Regions from separate parts of the Homo sapiens genome. Here regions 2, 3, 4, 5, 6 and 7 are each linked to region 1. Evidence: promoter capture Hi-C in human tissues and cell types (Jung and others, 2019). All regions are on one chromosome and are shown on one strand. Each heading gives the region's core, a stretch centred on a gene start or on the middle of the fragment in contact. The rest is flanking DNA. Distances are from core to core; before and after follow the strand shown.

Evidence for each region. The method cuts DNA at HindIII sites, captures the fragments that hold promoters and counts their contacts. A contact is called where the count stands out against the background at its distance.
Region 2: the fragment with the promoter of UBXN7 here is called in contact with the fragment with the promoter of NCBP2 in region 1 in 1 of the 25 tissues and cell types used here (dorsolateral prefrontal cortex).
Region 3: a fragment that was not itself captured here is called in contact with the fragment with the promoter of NCBP2 in region 1 in 1 of the 25 tissues and cell types used here (hippocampus).
Region 4: a contact is called between a fragment that was not itself captured here and the fragment with the promoter of NCBP2 in region 1, in 2 of the 25 tissues and cell types used here (H1 embryonic stem cells and dorsolateral prefrontal cortex).
Region 5: a contact is called between a fragment that was not itself captured here and the fragment with the promoter of NCBP2 in region 1, in 1 of the 25 tissues and cell types used here (dorsolateral prefrontal cortex).
Region 6: a fragment that was not itself captured here is called in contact with the fragment with the promoter of NCBP2 in region 1 in 1 of the 25 tissues and cell types used here (lymphoblastoid cells).
Region 7: a contact is called between a fragment that was not itself captured here and the fragment with the promoter of NCBP2 in region 1, in 4 of the 25 tissues and cell types used here (dorsolateral prefrontal cortex, lymphoblastoid cells, mesenchymal stem cells and 1 more).

The regions. Positions count from the first base shown.
Region 1 is chr3:196,941,261-196,943,817 of GRCh38, forward strand. It overlaps NCBP2 (nuclear cap binding protein subunit 2), which reads right to left and starts at 1,268. Exons shown (of 4, transcript NM_007362.5): 1 at 1,166-1,268. The coding sequence starts at 1,243. It overlaps NCBP2AS2 (NCBP2 antisense 2 (head to head)), which reads left to right and starts at 1,414. Exons shown (of 1, transcript NM_001355243.2): 1 at 1,414-2,283. The coding sequence starts at 1,457. The coding sequence ends at 1,756. NCBP2-AS1 (NCBP2 antisense RNA 1) reads left to right here. Exons shown (of 3, transcript NR_046630.1): 3 at 1,133-1,274. RefSeq lists enhancers at 600-1,273, 732-971, 1,002-1,141, 1,192-1,491, 1,274-1,947 and 1 more. The HindIII fragment of the contact is 10,051 bases long and covers 1-2,557 here.
Region 2 is chr3:196,431,156-196,433,712 of GRCh38, forward strand. It overlaps UBXN7 (UBX domain protein 7), which reads right to left and starts at 1,272. Exons shown (of 11, transcript NM_015562.2): 1 at 1,172-1,272. The coding sequence starts at 1,244. It overlaps UBXN7-AS1 (UBXN7 antisense RNA 1), which reads left to right and starts at 230. Exons shown (of 2, transcript NR_046745.1): 1 at 230-286; 2 at 1,047-1,879. RefSeq lists enhancers at 29-803, 380-429, 804-1,577, 1,510-1,589 and silencers at 1,140-1,199, 1,220-1,469. The HindIII fragment of the contact is 10,299 bases long and covers 1-2,557 here.
Region 3 is chr3:196,457,350-196,459,906 of GRCh38, forward strand. No RefSeq gene overlaps it. Among named protein-coding and RNA genes, the nearest start is that of UBXN7, 26 kb to the left of the region's middle. The HindIII fragment of the contact is 8,617 bases long and covers 1-2,557 here.
Region 4 is chr3:196,476,622-196,479,178 of GRCh38, forward strand. The region is part of intron 4 of RNF168 (ring finger protein 168); the gene reads right to left. Among named protein-coding and RNA genes, the nearest start is that of RNF168, 26 kb to the right of the region's middle. The HindIII fragment of the contact is 5,717 bases long and covers 1-2,557 here.
Region 5 is chr3:196,497,106-196,499,662 of GRCh38, forward strand. The region is part of intron 1 of RNF168 (ring finger protein 168); the gene reads right to left. All of the region lies in intron 1 of LOC105374306 (a long non-coding RNA gene), which reads right to left. Among named protein-coding and RNA genes, the nearest start is that of RNF168, 5.4 kb to the right of the region's middle. The HindIII fragment of the contact is 8,083 bases long and covers 1-2,557 here.
Region 6 is chr3:197,302,971-197,305,527 of GRCh38, forward strand. It overlaps DLG1-AS1 (DLG1 antisense RNA 1), which reads left to right. Exons shown (of 3, transcript NR_038289.1): 3 at 1-781. Among named protein-coding and RNA genes, the nearest start is that of DLG1, 5.6 kb to the left of the region's middle. The HindIII fragment of the contact is 5,403 bases long and covers 1-2,557 here.
Region 7 is chr3:197,233,790-197,236,346 of GRCh38, forward strand. All of the region lies in intron 4 of DLG1 (discs large MAGUK scaffold protein 1), which reads right to left. Among named protein-coding and RNA genes, the nearest start is that of MIR4797, 59 kb to the right of the region's middle. The HindIII fragment of the contact is 3,494 bases long and covers 1-2,557 here.

The DNA of each region.
Region 1 (2,557 bases), core at 18-2,517:
TTTTGTATTTTTAGTAAGACGGGGTTTCACCATCTTGGCCAGGCTAGTCTTGAACTCCTAACCTCGTGATCCACCCGCCTCAGCCTCCCAAAGTGCTGGGATTACAGGCGTGAGCCACCGTTCCCAGCCTTGACTAAATAAATCTAAGAGCTTCCCTAATTTAGCGTCAAACAAAATTTCCCTTTCCCTACTCTAGTAACACATTTCACACATTCTCCACACTTACCCTCTGCTATATGCGCCCCTTCCTTTCCCAGTCACAAGGGGATTTTTCCCTTTTCTGAATCCTCACTACAGGGGATTATGAGCTCGCAGAGCGCAGAAACTGTCTTCCCTCTCCCTCTAGGGTTTAGCACAAGGATTTGGCGACAGCACTCGATAAACGTTTACTAAATAATTGGGTTAATGAGTCCCGCCCCGCCAACCCCCAACCGTATTCCATCCCTACCTCCGCTGATACTGAAAAGTCTACTTTGAATATCTGCTGCCTCCCCTTTTTCCACAAAATATACTGTGATATAGTCCGGACTAAAAATTTCCCTCTTCTGAAATCCAGCAATTCTCCGATCTTTACATCCGAACACCCTCAAAGTGCCGAGCTTGGCGGGTCCACCTCCCCACTCCGAAGCTTCCCCGAGGGCGGAGTGAGGACTCCACTTGTGTCTCCCACGCACCGCGTACAGCTTCCGTAACACCATCCTCCCAGAGAAGGGGCCCGAATCGCCGAAGGGCACTGCTTCGCCGATTTAAAAAACAAAGCAAAAAGCCCCGCATCTGCATCAGGAAGGCGCCTCTGCCTACTCTGGGAGAGAGAAGGGCACCCCTCCCCCTTGCTACGTAGTCGTCTGCGGAGGCACAACCGTGGAAACGGGAGCCGCCACCACCACCACCGCTCAAACCTCTCGGCACTGGCTGGGGTACAGGGAGCGGCTGCGAGCGAATGGGATAAGCGAGCCTCCAGTTCCCCGTCTTCCAGAGCAAGTGGCTTCAGTGATATCCAAGCGCCCTTCCAGCACCCATTCCCTGCCTCGCCAGCAGGCACCGGGGCCCCACTTGGCGTTTGCGGATTTCAGCTGAATGGGAGGCGACACAATGAGACAAGAGCAAACCGTTTCTCAGCGTTCTTGCCCAGGGCCTTCCCGTCTCGCGGCCCGGCCTCCCTCACCCGGAAGTGCTGGTCCCGGTACTGGCTCAGCTCCACGTAGGAGTCGCTGCGCAGCGCCTTCAGGAGGCCACCCGACATAGTGCAGAGAAGCGGACCACAATGCGGCGACTCCCGGCACGAGGCTGCGTCCGCGATGGCGGAAGCGGAAACGCGCGGAGGCGAGCATCTCATTGGACCCAATCCGAGGGCGGCGTGTCGTCATCAAGCTGCGCGGGGGCATAGACGTCCGGGTCGGGCGCCGCGGGGCGGAAGACGAGGGCGGCGAGGTCGGGTTCCGGGCGCTTGGAGAAGATGGTGCTGCGGCGGCTGCTGGCCGCCCTGCTGCACAGCCCGCAGCTGGTGGAACGTCTGTCAGAGTCGCGGCCTATCCGACGTGCGGCGCAGCTCACGGCCTTCGCACTGCTGCAGGCCCAGCTGCGGGGCCAGGACGCGGCCCGCCGCCTGCAGGACCTCGCGGCTGGGCCCGTGGGCTCCCTGTGCCGCCGCGCTGAGCGATTTAGAGACGCCTTCACCCAGGAGCTACGCCGCGGCCTCCGAGGCCGCTCGGGGCCACCACCAGGTAGCCAGAGGGGCCCTGGCGCAAACATTTAATCCTGGGCTGTGCGGGGCCGAGGCCGCTTGCTTTTCCTTCCGGGCTCTACAGTGGCATCAATGTGGAGGGGTCATTCCGGGCACTGCGCGCGGCTTCGAATCCCGACTGGGATTGTTGGCCTGCAGACATCCCACGCATAAGAGCCTAGGCCAGACCGCCCGCTCCGTTGAAGTCTTGTGATTGGACAAGACACAGTGTGGAGACAGCCCTAAGCCTAACAGAGATGAAGGTAGGCTGGGTCCAGACACGGCACCTACGGAGAGCCACGGACCGAAGCCAGAGAGCCTTTCCTCTGCAAGTGGGACTGAAACTCTTGACAGATGCTGCTCAATCTGACTGGTATAGCAGGACAGTTAATTCCAGGGACGATATGGATGAAAAGACAACCCTACAGCTGCCAAATTCCTTTGATTAAATGTGTGAGCTGGTTGATAGGCATGAGTGTGATACTTCTCAGGCAAGATGTGTTAAGAATACCGGGGACTGTAGGCCTATGGTAATAATAAACACGTATTTTATGAAATGAGTCTTCTGTGCTGGGACTTGCTCATTGCACTCTATGTGTTATCTCACTCCTTACAACGACATTCACATGAGGAAGCAGATTACTTTTTGGATTTTTTTGTAGAGATGGGGTGGTCTCGAACTCTTGGGCGCAAGTGATCCTCCCGCCTCAGCCTCCCAAAGTGCTGGGATTATAGGCAAGAGCCACTGCGATGGAAACAGAGGCTGCTGCTTAAGTTGCCCAAAGTCTTGCAGAGTGGGATGTGAGCAGAGGCATTTGACTCCAGGGCCTAAGT
Region 2 (2,557 bases), core at 22-2,521, 510 kb before region 1:
CTAGGAACATTAACAGTGGAAACATTCTCCGCATCTAACAAATTACGAGATAAAGTATAGATCCGTTGAGAGGGAACTAACATTCTGACCTCCTTCCAAAACGACAAACTAGAACGGCAAAATTACACTCAGGCACATTGGAGTACTCTTCTCTCAAATCACTCCACAGAGAACTTCATCATTTGCTCCGCCCTCTAATAACTCATGCAAGAAAAGTTCAGCACCATCAGAGAGAAACAAGACAGAGAGAATTCATAGAATGGCTTTAGGGCCTTTCCTCCAGGCGGTAAGAGGATCTGCGTGTGTCCTTCGCAGGGGTCCAAAGGGAGAGAACCTAGGCCTAGGGTTTCGGGGATACCGACACCCAGAAACAGATTTTCTCTCAAAGAAGTTTCTGCCGCCATCCCTATCTTATCAGCAGGAGGCCCCGGCGCCATCGTCTCCGTCTTTATGATTTTATTATGGGGAGGTGGGAAACGCCACCCTGGATTCTTCCAGGCCTCCCCTATTCAGCTTGGGGGTTCCCCCTCATTCTTCCCTCAAAGCCTCAGTCCCTGAGGTCCTCCTCAGCACCCCCCGCTTCTGGCGGCCTGTCCCCCGTGAAGTGTAAAGGCACGGCCGAACCCACCGGCCTTGCCGTGAAGGCGGGAGGGCCCGAACCCGCCAGGGCCACGGCGATGGCTCCGAGGGGCCCAGAAAGGGGAAGGGCAGGCCGGGGACCGGGGCAGAATGACCTGGCCGGGGAAGAAAGGAAAAAAGGAGGTGAGGAGATGCACCGCACCGCAGGGCTGCACAGAGAAGGGAAGATGATGAAGGAGGAGGAGGAGGGCGGTGGCCCGGGTGCGGCCCCCTACTCCTCCCGCCCCCGGGTCCCCGGGCCGGCGGGGGCGGACGGACTCGGCCCATTCCCAGGTCTGGGCTGGCGGGGGGTTGGGGGATCTCCCTCCACGCTACTAGGAGACAGAGAACGAGGGTATCGGGAGCGGGGGGGGGCTGTCTCCCGCCTGAACCCGGAGACCCCGACGCCGTCGTCGCCTCTTCCTCAGGAGGGAGGACGGCAGCTGTGGGTAAAGCCCGAAGGAGGAATGCCTGAAGGTAAGGGGAAGCCCGGGGCAGACCCGCTGCCCGCTCCGGACCCCACTCTCCACCTTCCGGTAACCGCGTCTCTTACCGGTAATGGTGGTGAACTGTTGAATTAACCCCTTCAGCGCCGAGGACGCCGCGGAGCCCCCGTGGGCAGCCATCTTACCGCCGCCGCCGCCGCCGAACAACAACACAGACACACACGGACTGCCCTCCCCCACTTCGCCGTGCGGTGTGCGCAGGCGCATTGACCGCCCCTCGAGCCCCGCCCCTCCCGTCCCCAGCGGTCTGCGCAGGCGCATTTTCCGACCGGGCCCGCGCGCTCCCAGCTCTCGGGTTGGCTGCTCGGTTGCTGCCTGCTCAGTGCATCCTTTTTGCCATTGCTGGTGCCTTCCTCTCCGGGCTCCAAGGCTAGCCTCGCAGGCGCGGTGTCGATTCCTAGATTCCGAAGGAAGCTTCGGTCTCGGCAGATAGTTCTTCGCATTTCAGCTTCGCAAGCTTTATTGACAGAGCCAACTGCCGATGACAGCATTTTTCTGTTTTGCGGTTGTACCGCACTCTATTAGGTTTCCTGCAGGTCCCATCAAAATGCAAACCCTACCTCCTCGCTTTGAAGCGACTCTCCCCGTACTCGCCCCCCAGCCTCTAAACTAATGGCTTAGCTAACCGATTGCGACGAGTGAAATACCAGAACCCTTCATGCCAAAGAAAGCACTTAGCGCGGGGTTGCCACCCAGTAGGTTTTCATAAACGATTGTTTAGTCTGCTTTCCTTAAATAAATTGGCCATCACGTCTCCCGTTAGGGTCTTAATGAGACCCCAAGAGGCGTCATTTGTATAAAAAGAAACTCTGTATATGCAGTAGAGGAAAGAAAACATATAGAAAGGAGACTGGAAAAGTGTGCTCAAAACGCTGGTAACGGTTACCTCCAGAGAAGAGAACGATCGGGACGATGGTCAAAGCGGACCTTACTTCGAGTTTCTTATTTATCTTTTTATTTTTAAACAAACATTATTGGCCGGGCGCGGTGGCTCATGACTGTAATCCCAGCACTTTGGAAGGCCGAGGTGGGAGAATCGCTTGAGGCAAGGAGTTCGAGACCAGACTGGGAAATATATCAAGAATCCATCTCAAAAAAAAAAAAAAAAAAAAGATATTCGTGTGTTCCTTGAATAATTTTAAGTATTTTGCAAAACAGTTACATGAGTGGGGTGCGCTCAAATCCAATAATCCCCCACCTTGCCCATAAAGTTAAAAGAGATTCCAAGTGATTCCGTTTGTTTTAGCCTCCCACCTTCCAACCTCCACCCACATATTTTGCATCTTCATAGGAAAATGGCCCAATAAAAGATGGGATGAGCTGTCTGAAGAATTGACACATCCTAAGAGTAAACATGCTATTGGGGAGAATTAAGAAAGAGCCATGTCAAATCAAGGGGTATAGTTTTTTGTTTTGTTTTGTTTGACAGGGAG
Region 3 (2,557 bases), core at 27-2,526, 480 kb before region 1:
AAACCTAACCTCAACCCCATTCATAATAAATGTTTTCTCTTTTTTTTTTTTTTTTTTTTTTGAAACAGAGGTTTTGGTCTGTTGCCCAGGCTGGAATGCAGTGGTACAATCTCAGCTCACTGCAACCTCTGCCTCCCGGGTTCAAGCGATTCTCCTGCCTCAGCCTCCCGAATAGCTAGGATTACAGGTGTGCACCACCATACCCAGCTAATGTATTTTTAGTAGAGACAGGGTTTCTCCATGTTGGCCAGGCTGGCCTCGAACTCCTGACCTCAGGTGATCTGCCTGCCTCAGCCTCCCAAAGTGCTGCAATTACAGCCGTGAGCCACCGGGCCTGGCCACGAATGATTTTTTAAAGCCAAAGAAAAGAGCAGTGGTTAGTTCAGAACCTTTTTGGTTGCCTTAGAAACTTAGGGTTTTTGCTATTACATAACATTAAAATTGCCACTTCCTCCTCTAAAGACCTAAGTCTGAGATAATTAGCCCTCATCTTTTTTTCAGACTGTGACCTATTCTTCTCAGCCCCAAAGGAAAATTTGTTTTTAAGATCATGCTTTAAAAAGTACTACTGGTTTGCGCCCAATGCTTGGCAAGTAAAAAACAAATAAAAAGTACTATTAGTTTAAAAAGTTAAAGTCTTCTAAAATCAAACTAGCTAAATTCATGTATTTTTAGCTTTATCCAAATAAAAGATTTAAAATGTTTTCTAAGCATTTGCCAGTAGAAGGAATCAATTCATTTTTTTTTTGTTTATAAGATGCTTTTCCAGAAGTTATTCTTGAGATTCTGAGATTTTTAAGCACCGTTTTCAAGTCAATAAACTGATAATAGTGTTGTACAAATTACAGCACCTCGAGCTCTTTGTGGGTGGAAAGGTTCTCTCACATGTTAAAACCAAGTTGATTTAATATCATGTCAGTGCCTCTTGCTAGGATTGTTACACAACTCCCCTCTCTTGATTTGTTGTAATGTAGGTTTACTCTGGAGAGTTACTTCATTATGATCTATTTTTAATTAATTCCAATGCCCTCCTTTTTTTTTTTTTTTTTTTTTTTGAGATGGAGTCTTGCTGTGTCGCCCAGACTGGAGTGCAATGGTGTGATCTCGGTTCACTGCAACCTCCACCTCCCAGGTTCAGGCGATTCTCCTGCCTCAGCCTCCCAAGTAGCTGGGACTACAGGCACCTGCCATCATGCCTGGCTAATTTTTGTATTTTTAGTAGAGACGGGGTTTCACCATGTTGGCCAGGATGGTCTCGATCTCTTGACCTCATGATCTGCCCACCTCGGCCTCCCAAAGTGCTGGGATTACAGGCGTGAGACACTGTGCCTGGCAAATGCCCTCCTTTTAATAGACAGATCAGGCTGGGCACAGTGGCTCACGCCTGTAATCCCAGCAGTTTGGGAAGCTGAGGTGGGTGGATCACCTGAGGTAAGGAGTTCAAGACCAGCCTGGCCAATATGATGAAATCCCATGTTTACTAAAAATACAAAAATTAGCCAGGCGTGGTGGCACGCGCCTGTAATCCCAGCTACTCTGGAGGCTGAGGCAGGAGAATCGCTTGAACCTAGGAGGCAGAGGTTACAGTGAGCCGAGATTGTACCGCTGCACTCCAGCCTGGGAAAAAAAAAAAGATCAAATCTTATCCTGGTGTTCTATTATTTCTGGATTGTATCCTTCTAGGAGCTCTGGGAATTTAGTGATGATGTCTGATGGCTTAATTTCCTATGGAGGAAATTTCAAAGAGGGTTCACCTGGTAGGTGAGGAATTGTGGGATTTGTAGGGCTTGTAGGGGCATAGGAAAATGGGACAATGGTAGCTTTAGGTGACCACCCGTTTGTGTATGGGGATGGCAGACACAATCTTATTCTCTGAATCATCAGCTCTGGACATAATCAGAACAACAACAACAACAAAAACTAAAGAATTGGAAGTGCTTTCTGCAGGTACTTAAAGGTTCTCTAGGTGGCCGGGCACGGTGGCTCATGCTGGTAATCCCAGCACTTTGGGAGGCCGAGGCGGGTGGATCACTTGAGGTCAGGAGTTCGAGACCAGCCTGGCCAACATGGTGGAACCCCGTCTCTACTAAAAATACAAAAATTAGCTGGGCATGGTGGTGAGCGCCTGTAGTTCCAGCTACTCAGGAGGCTGAGGCAGGAGAGTCACTTGAACCTGGGAGGCAGAGGTTGCAGTGAGCCGAGATCATGCCACTGCACTCCAGCCTGGGTGACAAAGCAAGACTCCATCTCAAAAACATAAAATAAATGAAAATAAAGGTTCTCCAGTTTTCTCCTATAGATCCTTCATGAGGCTTAACTTCTCCTGGGAATTTGTGGATAAGCATCATTTTTCCACACATACTAACACCCATCTTGTCTAGATAGGAGCGTTATAGGTTTTTGCCTTAGACGTTTCAAGACACCTTAGTCCAGAATCTATTAAAGGAAAACATCTCTGGTGTGTTTTCTTTCCCCCTCTTGTCTTGCAGCGTCAAGCCTGCCATTCTAAACTCTGCTGATATAAAAACCATTTGCCCAGACTCCTTTGCCAGTTGGC
Region 4 (2,557 bases), core at 16-2,515, 460 kb before region 1:
GCCAGGCTGGTCTCGAAGTCCTGACCTCAGGTGATCCGCCTGCTTCGGCCTCCCAAAGTGCTGGGATAACATGCGTGAGCCACCGTGCCTGGCCCTCAACTCTCTTCTTAGAAACACATATCTTTACATTTCTTTCTTTTTTTTTGAGACAGAGTCTCACTCTGTCGCCAGGCTGGAGTGCCGTGACATGATCTTGGCTCACTGCAACCTCCGCCTCCCGGGTTCAAGTGATTCTCCTGCCTCAGCCTCCTGAGTAGCTGGGACTACAGGCACACGCCACCATGCCCTGCTAATTTTTGTATTTTTAATAGAGACAGGGTTTCACCACGTTGGCCTGGATGGTCTCAATCTCTTGACCTCAGGTGATCCGCCTGCCTCGGCCTCCCTAAGTGTTGGGATTACAGGCGTGAGCCACTGCACCTGGTCATATCTTTACATTTCTAAGAATCTTCAATATAACAGGCTGTTTGCCACTGAAAACACTACGGTTTTAATAGAATGGAAAATGTTATAAAAGAACGGGGAATAGAAAAGGCAGGCTACAAGATGGTAGGTATAGTTTAAAAATTGTAAAATATCCAAACATGCATATAACTATGTTTACAAATGGCAGAAATTTCCCAAAATGTTGGTTGTCTCCAAATGGTGGAAACTTTGGGTGATTTTCAAAGAGCAGCTAGCCATGGCTTTTAGAATTAGAGAAAAAAAGTGACTATAAATAACAGACAAATCCATAAGTTACACTGTGTCAAAAGCACCAACAAGTAGCATATGGAACAATCAAACCTAAACAAAGATCTCATATAAAGAACTAATGAATATTCCTTATGGGCAAACAAGAGTACCTAACCCATATATTTAGTTATATCAATCTATATATTTACTCTGTTAACTTTGAAGAACAAGAACCAAATTTTCAGTTGAAAAGAAGCTTAGTCTCATTTAGTTTCTTTAGGCTGAAGAATTCTTTCTGTCAATGCTGATGCGGGACCACTACTTACGAAGCATACCAGTACCAAAGTATCACTGTTATAACAGTTGTTTTGACGTTCATAAGCAGAGAACAGAATGTTATTACTTATCCAACACAATCACTGAAGATTCATTAACTCTCTTGGATATTCCTTATTTATAATAACCAAGTAATATATGAATACATGCTCATTCTGAAAATAAGCAGAACTGGCCGTGGTGGTTCATGCCTGTAATTCTAACACTTTGGGAGGCTGAGGTGGGAGGATCGTTTGAGGCCAGGAGTCCGAAAACTGGACAACACAGCAAGACCCATCTCTACAAAAAATTAAAAAGAAAAATTAGCTGGACATAATGGTGTGTGCCTATAGTCCCAGCTACTCTGAAGGCTGAGGTGGGAGGATCGCTTGAGCCCAAGAGTTTGAGGCTGCAGTGAGCTATTTTCTTGCCACTGTGGCCTGGGTAACAGTGAGACCCTGTCTCTTAAACAAAACAGAAATACAGGAAATATATGTCATCAACCCTTTCCCTTCCCATGTTTTAAGAACTTTTTTTTTTCTTTTTTCCTTGAGTCTGAATTTTTGGGATCCATTCCCATTTGCTTCCTTTTATGTTTTAAATTAAGTTTAGCCTAAAGCTGCCTCCTTACGTATTTTAAGTTCAGCCCAAAGATTTCTCTGTATATAGTGAACTACAGCCTAAAGGGAGGTGTGAACAGCCTGTAAACTACTCTTGTGCCAGTCACCAAGCTTTGGCCAAAGGGGGCCAACTGTTCAAATCATGTTCAAATAAGGCAAATGCCAAACTGTAACCACTCTGGCTGTCTCTGCCCCTCATTTCTGCTTTCCATACATCACGTTCCCTTTTCTGTCTGTTAATCTTCTTCCGACATGTGGCTCCACGGGAGTCGCTCTCGGCCTACTCTGGCTCGAGAGGCTGCCCAATTTGTGAATTGTCCTTTGCTCAATTAAACTCTGTTAATTTGTCTAAGGTTCTCCTTTTAACATATGTAACCAATTTTTTAAAAATATGATTTCTATGAAATACACACTCTTTTTGATTTTGTTTATTTTAGTTATTTTATTTTTTGGGGGACAGAGTCTCACTCTATCGCCCAGACTGAAGTACAATGGCACAATCTCTGCTCACTGCAACCTCTGCCTCCCGGGTTTAAGCAACTCTCCTGCCTCAGCCTCCCAAGTAGCTGGGATTACAGGCATGCACCACCATGCCCAGCGAATTTTTGTATTTTTGGTAGAGACAGGCTGATCTCGAATGCCTGACCTCAGAAGTATTGTATTTTTGGTAGAGACAGGACAGCCAGGCTGGTCTTGAACTCCTGACCTCAGGTGATCCACCCACCTCGGCTTCCCAAAGTGTTAGGATTACAGGTGTGAGCCACCGCACCTGGCCATTATTTTATTTATTTTTTTTTGAGACGGCGTCTCACTCTATTGCCCAGGTTGGAGTGCAGTGGTGCAGTCTCAGCTCACTGCAACCTCCACCTCCTGAGTTTTAAGCAATTCTCTCTGCCTCAGCCTCCCGAGTAGCTGGGATTACAGGTGCTCGCCACCACACCCGGCTA
Region 5 (2,557 bases), core at 28-2,527, 440 kb before region 1:
ACTGCACTCCAGCCTAGGCAACAGAGCAAGACTCTGTCTCAAAAAGAAAAAAAAAGATTTACTCTAAAGTCACAGTAATCAAGACAGTGTGACACTAATATTAGAATCAACGGATCAATGAAATAGAATAGACCCACATTATTTTTTTTAAAAAGTCTTTTCAACAAAAGGTACAGAAATAACTGATACCCATATGGGAAAAAGTTAACCTCAACCCCCTAACTTATACAATATTCAAAATTAATTTGAAATGGATCAAAGACCTAAACATAAAAGTTAAAACTGGCCAGACACAGTGGCTCACACCTGTAATCCTCGCACTTTGGGAGGCCAAGGCAGGCGGATCACGAGGTCAGGACTTCAAGACCAGCCTGGCCAACATGGTGAAGCCCCATCTCTACAAAAAATACAAAAATTAGCCAGGCATGGTGGTGCGTGCCTGTAGTCCCAGCTACTCAGGAGGCTGAGGGAGGAGAATCGCTTGAACCTGGGAGGTGGAGGTTGCAGTGAGCCATCACGCCACTGCACTCCAGCCTGGGCGACACAACGAAATTCAGTCTCCAAAAAAAAAAGGTAAAACTATAAATCTTTTAGAAAAAAAAATAGCAATATCTTAGCCTGAAGGTAGCTAAAGGTTTCTTAGACCATAAAAAGCAATAAACTATAAAAGGAAAAATTTATGAGACTTCATGAAAATTAAGAATTTCAGCTCGTCAAAACAATTAAGAATATCTGGCAAAGTACCAGTATTCAAAATACATAAATAATGTCTACAACTGAATATAAACAATTTAGGGGAAAAAGAATTAAACAGACACTTTACAATGGAAGAGGGCAAAACTGTCAATAAGCACATGAAAAAGAACACTATCATTAGTTACCTGGAAATTGAAATTAAAACAAGATACTACTATCAATACAAATCAACTGGAATGGTTAAATCTAAAAAGACAGATAACATCAAAAGTTGGTAAGATGTACGGCAACCAGAACCTGTATGCTGTTGGTGGGATTACAAAATGACACAACCACTTTCGAAAAAGATCTGGTAGTTTCTTCTTTCTTTTTTTGAGATGGAGTCTCACTCTGTCACCGAGGCTAGAGTGCAGTGGCGCGATCTAGGCTCACTGCAACCTCTGCCTCCTGGGTTCAAGCAATTCTCTGCCTCAGCCTCCCGAGTGGCTGGTATTACAGGTGCCCGCCACCACACCCGGCTAATTTTTGTATTTTTAGTAGATGGGGTTTCAGCATCTTGGCCAGGCTGGTCTTGAACTCCTGACCTTGTGATCCACCCGCCTCGGCCTCCCAAAGTGCGTGAGCCACCATGCCTGGCAGGTAGTTTCTTATAAAAATATGTACCTATTCTACGTTGCGTAATTCCAGCTCCTAAGTATTTAACCAAAAAAACCCTGAAAACATAAGGCCACACATACACACACAGAGACACAAAAACTTGCACAAGAACCTTCTCAGCAACTTTATTCATAATATCCAAAACTGCAAGCAACTGAAGCACTGTATCAGTGGAGAATGGCCAATCATATACAGCATAGTCAATGGTGGAATAATACTTAAAAAACGAATATCTACACAAGAATAAATCTTGAGGCCAGGCGCGGTGGCTCATGCCTGTAATCCCAGCACTTTGGGAGGCCGAGGCGGGTGGATCACCTGAGGTCAGGAGTTCGACACCAGGCTGGGCAACATGGTGAAACCCCATCTCTACTAAAAATACAAAAATTAGCCAGGCATGGTGGTGCGTGCCTGTAATCCCAGCTACTTAGGAGGCTGAGGCAGGAGAATCACTTGAACCCAGGAGACGGAGGTTGCAGTGAGCCGAGATCCTGTCACTGCATTCCAGACTGGGTGACAGAACAAGACTGTCTCAAAAAAAAAAAAAGAATAAATCTTGAACCTTATGCTGAATAACCCCCCAAAAGATATGCTTAAGTCCTAACTCCCAGTAACTAAGAATGTGGTCTTAACTGGAAACAGGTTGTTACAGATATAATGGAGTTCATACAAAGAGTACAGAGCCTTTAATCCAATATAACTAGTGTCCTGGTAAAAAAAAAAGAGAGAGACACAGAGGAGACGGCCATGTAAAGACAGACACACCGGGAAACTCTACGTGCCAATGGAGGCAGAGACTGGAGTGACTCAGCTGCAAACCAGGAACACCATGGATTCCAGCCACACCAGAAGCTAAGGAGAAGGGCACGGAACAGATTCTCTCCCAGAGCCTTCAATGTACATGTCCCTGCTCCCTGCTAGCATCTTGGGTTTGGAGTTCTACTCTTCAGAACTGAGGGAGAATAAATTTCTGCTAAGTTCGTGGTACTTTGTTACAGTAGCCCTAGGAAATAAAAAGAATTCCATTTATATGAAGTTCCAGAACAGAAAAAACTCATCTATGGTGGATAAAAACTAAAACAGCCCGGACGCGGTGGCTCACGCTTGTAATCCCAGCACTTTTGGAGGCCAAGACAGGTGGATCACGAGGTCAAGAGATTGAGACCATCCTGACCAACACAGCAAAACCCCATCTCTACTAACA
Region 6 (2,557 bases), core at 40-2,539, 360 kb after region 1:
ACACAGGAAGTTTTTCCTTAACATGAGTTGTCAGAAACTGTCCAAAATTCCAAAGAGCTGCCTCAAGGTAGTGGAAATTTTTTTTTTTTTTTAATCAGGAAGGTGCTGAATGAAGCCAGCAAGGATTCTGTGTCAGAGGGTGGTAGATACCCAGGACATAAGGTTGAACCACGTGACCTCTGAGACCACAGTTCTAAGCTGTTGAAACCTCAGTCCCTGCTGAATACTGAAATGGTATTAGCACCCTTTAGTCTACATCAAGAATTCGTTCTACCCAGTTTTGGTGGTACCAAGACTGATCTCTTTCTCATAGATAATTCTTAACAGAATAAAAGCTACAGGTTGAAACCAATTCCCTTTAAAATGTGGACAGTTGACCATCTCCATGATAGGTAGTTAGGCACTGAATTAATGCTTTTTAATGGAAGAGCCACCCTAAGATTCCTGGAGTGTGGTATAATGGAGTACTAAATCAGCATAGGACTAATAACTGCCTCCCGTGTAAACTGGTCTATCCGGAGAGTGGTATAGCCTCTCATACAGTGTTCAAAGGCAGATTTAACTCACTGCAGGTCCACAGCAACCGATAAGATAAACTCGTTGGTTATGGTCTCCCACTTTGCAAAGGAGAGCACAGAGGAAGAGGAAACTGAGATAACTTGGTTTAGGACCCCACAGCTGGCTGGAGCTGGGCTGAACATTAGTTCATTGTTTCTTCGATTAATCTATGCTGCTTTTTCTCTACTTGGCTCCTTTTCTAAATTAAACAAAACAAAACAAAAAACACTGGGCACAGAGTGGTGTATATGTGTGTGAGAGAGAGACAGAGATAGAGAAAGACTAAGCGAAAGAGAAAAGAGAGAGGCTGAGTGAGATTCAGATAAAATAAGGCACAAGTCATGGGCTAGTCTGTTGTACAGTGTACTTGTCATATATTTGAATGCCTTTAACAATGGAGACAGTTTTGATGGAAATAGGGCCTTGAAGAAATGCATATCCGCACCCTGGTGGTATGTTATAACTAAACGGGTTGGTTTTTTGTTTCGGAGTTTTTTGGGTTTCTTTTTAATGCAAAGGTATATATTTAAAATACCCTGTAGCTTCCTTCTCTCCTTCATTTCATTTCCTTAAGTATGAGAGAGGTTTTCTGGATGACGGGACATCCAAACTGGAAGTGCCCTCAGATCCCATCAACTCCCATCCCCATGTTTGAGAAGCACGTAAAGTAAGCTCCAGAAGAGCTCCCAGACAACGTCGGCACACAATTATCAGAGGACTTTTCCCTGATGGCAGAAAGCTACTGACATTTCCAGAACCATCCATCTTTCTTTTAGAGAGAAGGGGCTGGGGGTAAGGAGAAATTAGTAATCTTTTCTAGAGATACGTTTCTAAGTTTAACCAAATTTGCTTTTCTGCTTTTGAAGAACTTGTGGTATTGACAGAACCGTAGGATCCCATATGGAAATCCTCAGGATTATACTAAAATCTCCTTACATGAAACAACCTCTTCACCCCACCCCCTGCCAAGAGAATGACCATTGTCTGTTCACAGAAGGCTTTGGCCAGGGCCCTTCAGTCAGATTATCCTTATGTAGGTAGAGAAGATAAACTTGGAAACTTAATTGGAATTTGAAGAAATGCTATTAGAATTTTAGGAAGTCATTTGTATTCCATTTCTGAGATATGACCTGAATAGAATTCTGGTAAGTGGAGAAGCCAGAAGATTCTTCATAATTATATGTGGACTGTGTCCAGTGACCAATCTCATTTAGGATGGAAAACTGCCACAACCTTCCAAAACAAAGACCTGTGTGCCAGTCTTTCATTTTTGGGAAGTGACACTCACTAGGGCTGTCATTTTCCTATTCCTCATGTTGTATAACCCTAAATTCCTTTATTATTTTCTTCTATTTTACACTCACAAGAACGGTAACGATAATGAATCATTTAAATCTTGCTTTCTATTTAAATTTTCTTTAGATTAAATTAATTTCTTCCCAAGACAATTTTATCAACTGAGATTAAATATTTGTGATTAAAGCATCTTCTGCCTTTTATAAATAAATTGGGCGGCAGTTGAAGAAACTTTTCCAAATATGCTTTTTAAAAATCCTGCAAAATTTTCCCAAGTTGGATATCATTTCAACTTGCAAATTACCACATGAATAAACAAAGCCAAGCTCGAAGGGAGTAGGAGACAATGAGTCAAAAATTTAAAAGGGATGGGCCTTTACCAATTACTAATGAAGATGAACAAAGCAATTTAAGAATAAGAGAGAAGTAAATATTTAATAAGAAATGCTACCATAATAATTTGGAGAAGCTTGGGTTCAAAAGAGCAGAATAAAGCTGTATCTCTATTCTTTTTTTCTCTTGGAAAAAGACTCCAAAAATATTAGAACAAAGAGAAACTTGTTCCTCCATCCTTAATAAAAAGAAGAGTGGCTAGGCGCGGTGGCTCACACCTGTAATCCCAACACTTTGGGAGCCCAAGGCAGGTGGATTGCTTGAGGTCAGGAGTTTGAGACCAGCCTTACCAACATGGTGAAACCCATCT
Region 7 (2,557 bases), core at 15-2,514, 290 kb after region 1:
GATTACAGGCGTAAGCCACCGTGCCCAGCCTTAAAGGTTTTATGTAAGCTTCTACAAGCCATGACTCCTATCTCATACAGTTTGCTTCAGGCTTCTCCATGTTCAAGGAAACTAAAGAAATCCATCCATTATACACTGGAAGCGGAGCTCTGATAAACAATATCCATGGTAAACACATTTGCTTCTAGCATAAAACTTCTTTGAAACAGCATCTTAGGTGGAAGTCCCCAAAAAACGAAATAGATGAACACAAAGAGGCTGTGGCTGAGCGCCAATGAGTCTCATCTTATGTCCTACTAAGCCAATCAACACACAGTCTTTAAGGAAACCTAGAATACCAGAGATAAGGTTTTGAACAGTGGTTCCCAAATGGTGAGATATCCAAAGAAGATTCCCAGGTATTTAGTCTAATTTAAGCCTAACGATCTTTATTTTTAACGAGCTCCCTGTCCAGTTCTAATACACAGACAGGCTTACAACCCCAGATGATCCAATTAAGAAAAGCAAAGCACAGTTCTCAAACCAAATTGAGTGTAAAATTTCAATGCAGAATGCTTTTCTCAGGGAGGAGGAAATGGATAAAACAAGGACAAAACATTTCCAAAAAGTATAATGGATGAATTTAGGAGTAGAGTTTTAACTGACTGGAGATCTTACTTTTGAAAAGAATAAAAATGTCTAATCAATCCCACATTCTCTAAATAAATGATGATATATTCCTGTTGTGAAATCTTAAACTGCCATTATAATATGGACAGACAAGCATAGTTTTAAAGAACATGTAATAACATGAAAAACTAACCTTGGACTAAAATTTTGCCTTTTAGCAAAACAAACAAACAAAAACACAATACAAACTGGGGGAACAAAGAAAGAGGGCTGTATGTCTGTTTATGCCCCGTAATTATGTATAAAAGGGGTTATATATATAATCACAGAAAAATGACTAGAACACAGAAAAATGTTAATAGAGGTAAGATATGGAGTCTGAGTTTACATGAGACTTAGGTTCATTTTTGTGTATTTCTAAACTCTACAATGAACATACATTGTATCTCCCTCATCCCAAAAAGTCACGTCAAAAGTTATGTTTTTTAAGGAAACTACTGAAGTAGTAGTTTCTATTCCAGAGTAACCAGCTTAAATCTATTGTGAAATTAAACAGGATCTAAATAAACAAAATATGAAAAAACTTCTACGTCAGGCCATGAAGAAGTTAACTGGTACAGAACTTGACCTTCTGCCTTAAAACAACTAGAAAACTAGAAAAAAAATACATGCCACAACAGTTTTCAGCACTGGACAACAAGCAGTACAGGACTACAATACCTGAGAGAAGGAAAACAAAGTGAGCTCTACGATCTTCCTGGCTTCCTGCCTGGAGGCCATTTTTTGGAACTTGACACATGATGGAGAAACCCAAGCCAATACAGCCATCTTACTGGGTTGACAAAAATCAAGACTGGTGTTCAAGGAGACGGAAGCACTGGAATGTGCAAGGCAGAATACTGGAAAGAAGAAGGCTAAGCAGAAAAAGAGCTCCAGAAATCAAATAGTGAGTACCCTTGAGACTTCAGTCTGAATACTAATCAACACGTGAACAGCATAAAATTCAACAAGGCCAGGCAAATAAAACTGTAAGGGACTTATAAACAAGCTTCAGAGCTCACAGTAAGCTGAGGAGTGTTCAAACTTATACAGAGCAGAGGGGCCTCAATAAACACTTGTAGTAATCAGTGGACACTCCTAGACAGTCAAGCCTTAGCATTAAGGCTAAGCTGGCCTTAAAGAAAAGGCTACTTGAGATCCAACTTTTAAAAAGCTTTAAAAAGTCTTGAACTGATCAACCTTATCTGCAAATGACTTAATTGCCTTCCAAAACAAACAACAGTATTTTCCAGAGAAAACAGTACTTAGGAACACTCAATTACATTCACAATGTCTGGGATCCAATGAAAAATAACCAGATATGCAAAGAAGCAGAAAACTGTGAGCCATCAGAGGAGGAAAGCCAGTTCATAATAGACTTAGAAATGCAAAATGACAGAATTAGCAGATAAAAACTCAAAAACACTCATAAAACTTAAGTATGCTCAAGGACTTAAAGGAAAACATGAATATCATGACAGAAATGGAACCAATAAAAACATACCAAATGGAATGAGGTTTTAAACGTGCTGGGAAAAAAAACCTGTCAACCCAGAATTTTTTTCATCAAAACTATCATTCAAAAATAAAGGCAGGCTAGTCATGGTGGCTCATGCCTGTAATCCCAGTACTCTGGGAGCCCAAGGTAGGCAGACTGCTTGAGACCAGGAGTTCAAGAGTGGCATGAGCAACATGGCGAAATCCCGTCTCTACAAAAAGTAAAAAATCAGCTGGGTGTGGTGGGGCATGCCTGTAGTTCCAGCTACTTGGGAGGCTGAAGCAGGAGGATCACTTAAGCCTGGGAGGAAAAGGTTCCAGTGAGCTGAGATGGCACCACTGCACTCCATCCTGGGCAACAGAGTGAGATCCTGTCTCAAAAATTAAAAAAAAGACAAAATAAAAATACTTC